2 separate regions of the Homo sapiens genome follow, and region 2 is linked to region 1. Evidence: promoter capture Hi-C in human tissues and cell types (Jung and others, 2019). All regions are on one chromosome and are shown on one strand. Each heading gives the region's core, a stretch centred on a gene start or on the middle of the fragment in contact. The rest is flanking DNA. Distances are from core to core; before and after follow the strand shown.

What was found. Contacts are between HindIII fragments. The study calls those that stand out against the background at their distance.
Region 2: a fragment that was not itself captured here is called in contact with the fragment with the promoter of SFT2D3 in region 1 in 1 of the 25 tissues and cell types used here (H1 embryonic stem cells).

Annotation. Positions count from the first base shown.
Region 1 is chr2:127,699,689-127,703,174 of GRCh38, reverse strand. SFT2D3 (SFT2 domain containing 3) reads right to left here and starts at 1,678. Exons shown (of 1, transcript NM_032740.4): 1 at 1-1,678. The coding sequence starts at 1,646. The coding sequence ends at 999. WDR33 (WD repeat domain 33) reads left to right here. Exons shown (of 22, transcript NM_018383.5): 22 at 1-2,148. RefSeq lists a silencer at 920-1,599 and enhancers at 1,919-2,440, 2,360-2,729, 2,441-2,962, 1,957-3,156. The HindIII fragment of the contact is 9,833 bases long and covers 1-3,486 here.
Region 2 is chr2:127,566,577-127,570,014 of GRCh38, reverse strand. It overlaps MYO7B (myosin VIIB), which reads right to left. Exons shown (of 48, transcript NM_001393586.1): 5 at 3,188-3,372; 6 at 105-226. All of the region lies in intron 1 of LOC105373609 (a long non-coding RNA gene), which reads left to right. Among named protein-coding and RNA genes, the nearest start is that of MYO7B, 33 kb to the right of the region's middle. The HindIII fragment of the contact is 4,339 bases long and covers 1-3,438 here.

The DNA.
Region 1 (3,486 bases), core at 429-2,928:
TTTACTTCCTAGTGTATTGCTACTGACAAAACGTAGTTTTCTGGACTCATCAGAATGTTAGGCTCATACCTTCTGGCAATAAATTAAGGTAGTTAAAAGTAACTGCTGAACCTAAAATGAAGGCAGCAGCAATTAGATATAAAAAAATCTTAAGATCAGCCTGCAAATTGTAAACTAGTTTACAAAGCAGGCTATACAATGAGGAATAATTCGAGCTTGTAGAAATCCATGGTTTCCACCAGATACAGGTATTCCGGATCTAGAATTATCTTTCTATTTGCAGGATTTCCGAAGAGACCGTTAAGCATCTACGCGCCCCTTCCTGGATCCCATGCTTCTTGGGGCAGGAAATTTCTTTTGGTCCGTCGCTTTCGTCGTGAAATACACAACTAATTTTCCTTTCATGTTATAAGGCACCATATTTATGATTTTGTTAACTGAAGAAAAAACCCGAGATAAACCATCTTAAGTACTTTTAAAAGTCCAGTGGCTGAATTCGGTGTTTAATCTGATACCCTTCTGGATTCGCTGACACTGGAGAGAATAATTTCCAAGTCTTAGTATAGCCAAAACAAAAAACTACCGTCGCTAAGCTACATCTACCACTGGATTTTAAAATGACAAAACAGCCTGAGAAAAATCACAAGAGCAGCTAACTCGAAGAAAAATCCTTTTTCTTTACTCAGCCGAACCTAAGACCACAGTTACTTCGAAAGCAACTTCTAATAACCGTCTCACATCCTGTCACCAGTTCAATGACAAAATCTCAGTTTTCAGAGCGTGTGCCAAGTCCAGCACAAAAAGCTGACATCGAGGAGCTCCCAACGCTGCTGTCGCCTCCGCTGGCAGCAGCCGCTCCCGGATTAGACTCGCAGGCTGTTAGGGCAGGGCCTTCGCCACGGGCTTCCGCACAGCGGCGTGCAGTCCTCAGCTCGGCCGGCGCGGTCTCCGACGGCGCTGGCTCCGCGTACTTCCCCAGCGGCGAGGGCGCGAGGTCCTCACACGGGCAGCACCTTGGCGAGGCCGGCGCCGCGGCCCAGGCGACCCAGTGCGAGGCGCAGCGCGGTGCCGCCGCCCCAGGGCAGCAGCCCAACCAGCGCGGCCAGCAGCGCGGCCACCTGCGCGCCCGCGCCCAGCACCGTGAGCAGCGTGCTGCGAAGGCCCAGCGCGGCGAACAGCGTGGCGCCCAGCGCTGCCATGTAGAGCAGCGCGGGCCGGGACGGCGCTTCTTCGCAGCGCAGCAGGCGTCCGCACGCCGCGCCGCCCCGCAGCAGCGCGCTTCCCGCCAACGCCAGCGCCGAGCCCAGTGACCAGAGCAGCGCGAACTTGCGCGCGCGCAGCAGCAACACCGGTGCGTAGAGCGCGGCTAGGCCGAAACACAGTGCAGCCAGCAGCAGGCACCCGCCGCCCGCCGCCAGCCGCTGCCCGCGCGTCACGCTCGGGAGGCACGTCAGGCCGGCCGCTGCCGACTCCGCAGGGCTCCGCGCCCACGTCCAGCGCAAGCCCGCGCGGCCCAGCCACTCCTCCGCCGGCCGGTCCCCGGGCTCCTCCGCCTTCTCCGCGGCGAGCAGCGGCTCCGCGGCCGCCGGGCCGCCAGCTTTCCCCTGCGCCAGGTACTCCTGCAGCTGGCGGTGGAGGTCCGCCATCTTGGACAAGGCGGTGGCAGAAAGGAAAAGCTGCGGCTCACTTCCGGCCCTCCGCTGAAGCGGTTCGGTCTTCGGGCGGCAATTGGTCGGCGACGGCGAAAGGGGCAGGGCCTGCGGCGCTCGCGGAAGTGCCGCGGTGCCTGCTCTGCGGACTTTTGTGGTGTCCCCAAGTACCGTGGTCGCAGGTGCTGCCTGTCCGCTTGCAGTCGCCCTCCCAGCGCCTGACCCTCTTCCTTGTTCGGAGTAGGCGCCCTTGCGGTCTGGCTAAGTCCTGCCAGCATTAATAGTTGGAAGGCAGGGGTGGGTGTGGTTCTAAAGGGGCACAAGAAGTGACCCTTTTGCTGACGGAAATGTCTTATGGCCTCACTGCGTCTACCGTGGCGGTGATATTGTGCTAGTTTTGCAACATGGAGGAATGGGTAAAGGGTACACAGAATCTCTCTTGTTTCTTACAACTGAACACAAACAGTGATCTCAAAATAAAAATTTAATTTTTAAAAAAGTTCAGACCTGTGTAACTCAGGTGGGTTTTTTGGGGAAAGTTGCGTTCTGATTAGTTACCTCACTTGTAGTAATAGTGACCATCCTGATCATTTACCATGGGGTTGATAAAGGAAGGGTTGACACCCAGCACCCTCAACCTGCTTCTCTATTCTGTTCTCAGTTTCGGCCACAGGCCTGGCAACATCCTTGACTCCTTCGCGCCCCTTGTCCAAGACTCGGTGCTGCTGTCCCATGTGTTTGGTGTCACTCTCGTGCTCTGGACAGCGCCACGCCCAGGTGTCCTGACTCATCGTCACATCACTGTGACAAGCTGGCTCGCACGCAGGTCAATCCTGATCTGTTCCCAGGCCGCACCCACGTGCCCTGCTGTTTCTCAGAGCCTCCTAGAGGGTGTTTGCTTGTGGTTCCTCTCACAGGTCAGATTCCTCCAGATTCTTCCAGCTGCCTCCACAGCTCCCCTCACCACCTTGGCTTCCCCTGGGTGGCCCTGTGTCCTTTGTCCTCTGCCCTAGGTGGATGTAAGGTTAACGGCTTCCTGCTGTTTGGCTTCTCAGCCTTTCCATCCCCTGTGTGTAACTAATCTCCCCCATTAAGTTCCTTTTAATGCTTTCTGTTTTCTTGGTTGGATCCTGGCAGATGCAATTCTTTTTCAAAATATATTCTGATTTGTTATCTCACTTGATAATAATAGTGACCAGCCTGATCACTTAGCATGGGCTAAACCATTAGGATGGCTACAATCAAAACAAAAAAACAAAAACACACCAGAAAGTTACAAGTGCTGTCAAGGATGTGGAGAAACTAGAAGCCTTGTGCACCGTTGGTGGGAATGTAAAATGCTATATCCGCTGTGGAAAACAGTATGGAAGTTACTATAAAAAAAAAATATATATATATATATATACACACACACACACACAGACACATATAAACGTATATACACACATATTTGTATACAGTTATGTGTGTATGTGTGTATATAATTACAATCCAATCCAGCAGTTCCACTCTGGATATATACCCCAAAGAATTGAAAGCAGGGTCTCAGAGATTTGTATAACTCTTCACAGCAGAACTATTCATGTCAGTCAAGAGATGGAAGCAACCCAAGTGTCCACCAGCAGATCAATAAAATGTGATATATGCATACAACGGACTGTTACGCAGCCTTAAAAAGGAAGGAGATTCTGACACATGCTACGACATGGATGAACCTTGAGGACATTAGGCTGAGGGAAATAAGCCAGTCACAAAAAGGACCAATACTGCATGATTCCACTTCTGTGAGGTACTTAGAGTAGTCAAATACACAGAGCTAGAAAGTGGACTGGGTGCA
Region 2 (3,438 bases), core at 664-3,163, 130 kb after region 1:
TTGCTGAAGGTTTGTGGCCTATCCTGTCCCTCCCCATGGTCCTACCTGGCAGGAAGGCTCCAGGGGGGCTGGGGGAGAAGGGCGGGTCCCAGAGTGATGCTTACCCTCCAGGATGGGGTTGGCTTCCAGGACCTGCTGCTCAATCCACGAATGCTGGCCACTGATGGTGGCCAGGAACTGCAGGATGAGCTTGGTGGTCTCCGTCTTGCCAGCCCCAGACTCGCCGCTGCAAAAAGGGTGTGCAGGGACATGATGCCACAAAACGACTATTTTTTTCAACACCTCTCAACTCTCCTGCAAACCCCAGTCCTGCTTTCTGAGCCAGTCTGACAGGGATGGCCTCTCCCCTGCAGAAATCCCACTGCACTGAAGCCCTGAAATCCCCTGTGGGTCTCAGGCTGCCTGTGTTGTACATGTTATTGTGTTTGTCTTTTCTTCTGTGCTTGGCTGCAAGTTCCTTGGCACACTCGGATCTGATTCATTCCAGGGTCAGCACCACAGTGCCCAGGACGTACAGAAGACTGAGTGAGATGACTCAGTGTCTTCCTAATGAAAGGGTGGCCCACAGGCCAGCAGCAGGCTCGGAATGCAGATGCCCAGGTCACACAGGCTCTGTTGATCAGAATCTGCATTTTCACCAGATCCCCAGAGGATTCCTGCACTTTGGAGTTTGCAAAACAGACTCCCACAGTCCCATTATCCAGCTTCAACTCCCGGCCAATTTTGTTTCCCGTCCTGTACTATTTTAAAGCAAATCCCAGATGTTGCTTCATCTGAAAATATTACCTTTTTTTTTTTTTTTTTTTTGAGACGGAGTCTCACTCTGTCACCCAGGCTGGAGTACAGTGGCATGATTTCGGCTCACTGCAACCTCCACCTCCTGGGTGCAAGTGATTCTCATGCCTCAGCTTCCTGAGTAGCTGGGATTACTGGTGGCTGCCACCACACCCAGGTAATTTTTATATTTTTAGTAGAGATAAGGTTTCACCATGTTGACCAGTCTGGTCTCAAACTCCTGACCTCAGATGATCTGCCCGCCTCGGCCTCCCAAAGTGCTGGGATTACAGGCATAAACCACCGTGCTTGGCCTGAAAATACTGTCTTTTTTTTTTTTTGAGACGGAGTCTTGCTGTTGTTGGCCTGGGCTGGAGTGCAATGGCACGATCTCAGCTCACTGCAACCTCCGCCCACTCCAGTTCCAGCAATTCTCCTGCCTCACCCTCCTGAGTAGCTGAGATTACAGGCGTCGGCCACCAAGCCTGGCTAATTTTTATATTTTTAGTAGAGACGGGGTTTCACCATGTTGGCCAGGCTGGTCTTGAACTCCTGACCTCAGGTGATCCACCTGCCTCAGCCTCCCAAAGTGCTGGGATTACAAGCGTGAGCTACCGCACCCGGCCAAAATATTACCTTTTTTAAAAGTTATGATCAAAATACCCACAATCACTATGCCAGCAAAGCAGAGTGAGATCAACAAACCTCCAGTGATAGCTGTGGACTCCCCTGAGTGCCTGTCAAGCGCCAGGCGTTTTTATAAACACGAGCTCATCAAATAACCTGCCATTGTAGAGACAGGGGCTTAAGGGGACTTGCCCACAGCCCTGGGGGAGGAAAGGGCAGGAGGAGAATGCAATTTGATTCAAAGTGACAAGTGACATTCTGCTCACTGCAAGGAACCAAAATCAGGGGGCTCTTTCCTCTCCTTGTTCACACTGCCAGCCCCGCCAACCTCCAGGTAGAGCCACACCGTAAGCTCCCTGGCCAGCCAGCCTGCGGCCCAGCTCTGCTGAGGGGCCTCTTGCCCTGCCTCTGGGGGCAGGTTGGGAGTTCCAGCTTTCTCCCAGAGTACCTGTCTGCTGTCTTCTCCAGAGCCCTGGGTTTGAATTTCCCACTTCACTGCTGTGTACCACTGGAACAGGATCTCAGCCCCTCTGATTGTAGGTCTCTCCAGCAGTAACATGAGACCATATCATGGGAATAAGAGCATCTCTTTCAGAGGGTTGCTGAGGACATGAAATGTGATCACCTGTGCCTTAGGACTTCATTCTGGTCTCTGTTCAACATCCCTCCTCAGAGAGGCCGTGCCTGGCCTGCCCCCTATCTAATGAAGAGGCCGACATCACCCTTTCCTCTCCCCTGCTGTGTTTTTCTTCAAAGCTGTTAGGACCTACATAAAAACGCACTTATTTGTTGCCTGTCTGTCTCCGCTTCTAGAATATAAGCTCCCTGAGGAAGGGATTCTGGTCCCTTTTGTTAGCTGCTGCCTCACCATGTTAGGACAGTTGGGGGCACTCAGTTGGGGCATGACAAAACCTCAAATGATTGAATGAATGAATGAATGAATGAATGAATCCCCCAGGTGGATCATGTCATCCACGCCATGGACTGAGTTGGGGTGCATGGGGCTGAGGACACCAAAGTTCTCTGCTAGGATCCAGTGTTCCTGGAACAACGGGTGCAGACTCCCCTGAGGGGTGGCTTCCATCCCCGTGGCCAGCCTGCCACACCCTCCCCTCCAAGTTCTCAGGGTCTGTGGTCACTGGTAGAGAGGCCAGGCCAGGCAGGGAGTCTCTGAAGCAGTCAGGACCTGGACTGGAGGGGACACTTTCCTTCTGGTCCCCTAGTGAACTGAGAGCTGTCCCCTGGAGCTGCTGCTCCTCTGTCCTCACCTGAGGCCTGCCCTGTGTTTTTTTTTGAGTGGGCCCTCACCTGTTCAACTCCTGCAGCTTTAAGTGCCTAACCTGGGTCCCATATCTTTTTCTTTTTTTATTTTTACAGAGAGAGGGTCTTGCTATGTTGTCTAGGCTGGTCTCAAACTTCTGGCCTCAAGCAATCCTCCTCCTTTGACCTCCCAAGTCCCTGGGATTATAGGCATGAGCTACTATGCCCGACTCCTGGGGCCCATTTCTAAAGGAACCCAGCCCAACTTCCTTCCTTGACTCAGTAAACCTTTATTAAAAGCTGGGCAGTCCAGTCCCTGGTGACACGATGAAAGCCTAGGTTCTGAAGGAAGGAAGCTTTGGGGGAACTGCTCGGGGTGCAGGGTAACTGGGGCCGTTGTGTGCTGTGGAGATGGGTGTGTGCCATGGAGTAGGGAGAGCTCTCATCTCGCCTGATCTTGCAGGCATGCTGGTGGGGAGCAGTTCAGGGAGATGCCTGGAGGTGGTGCCTGACCCCTCTGCCTCACCTGATGATGCAGCACTGGTCCCTCTTGTTCCTCTTCATGCTGAAGTAGCAGTTGTTGGCGATGGCAAAGACATGCGGGGGCAGCTCGCCCATATGGCGGCTGTAGTAGAGCTGTACCTGCTCCAGGGTGTAGAGCGGCAGCACCTGGAACGGGTTGACGGCCACCAGGATGGAGCCTGTGTATGTCTGGGAAGGAAGCAGGTGGTCAGTGCCCTCTGCCCCTGGCAGAGGTACTCGGCCCTGGCCTTGGCC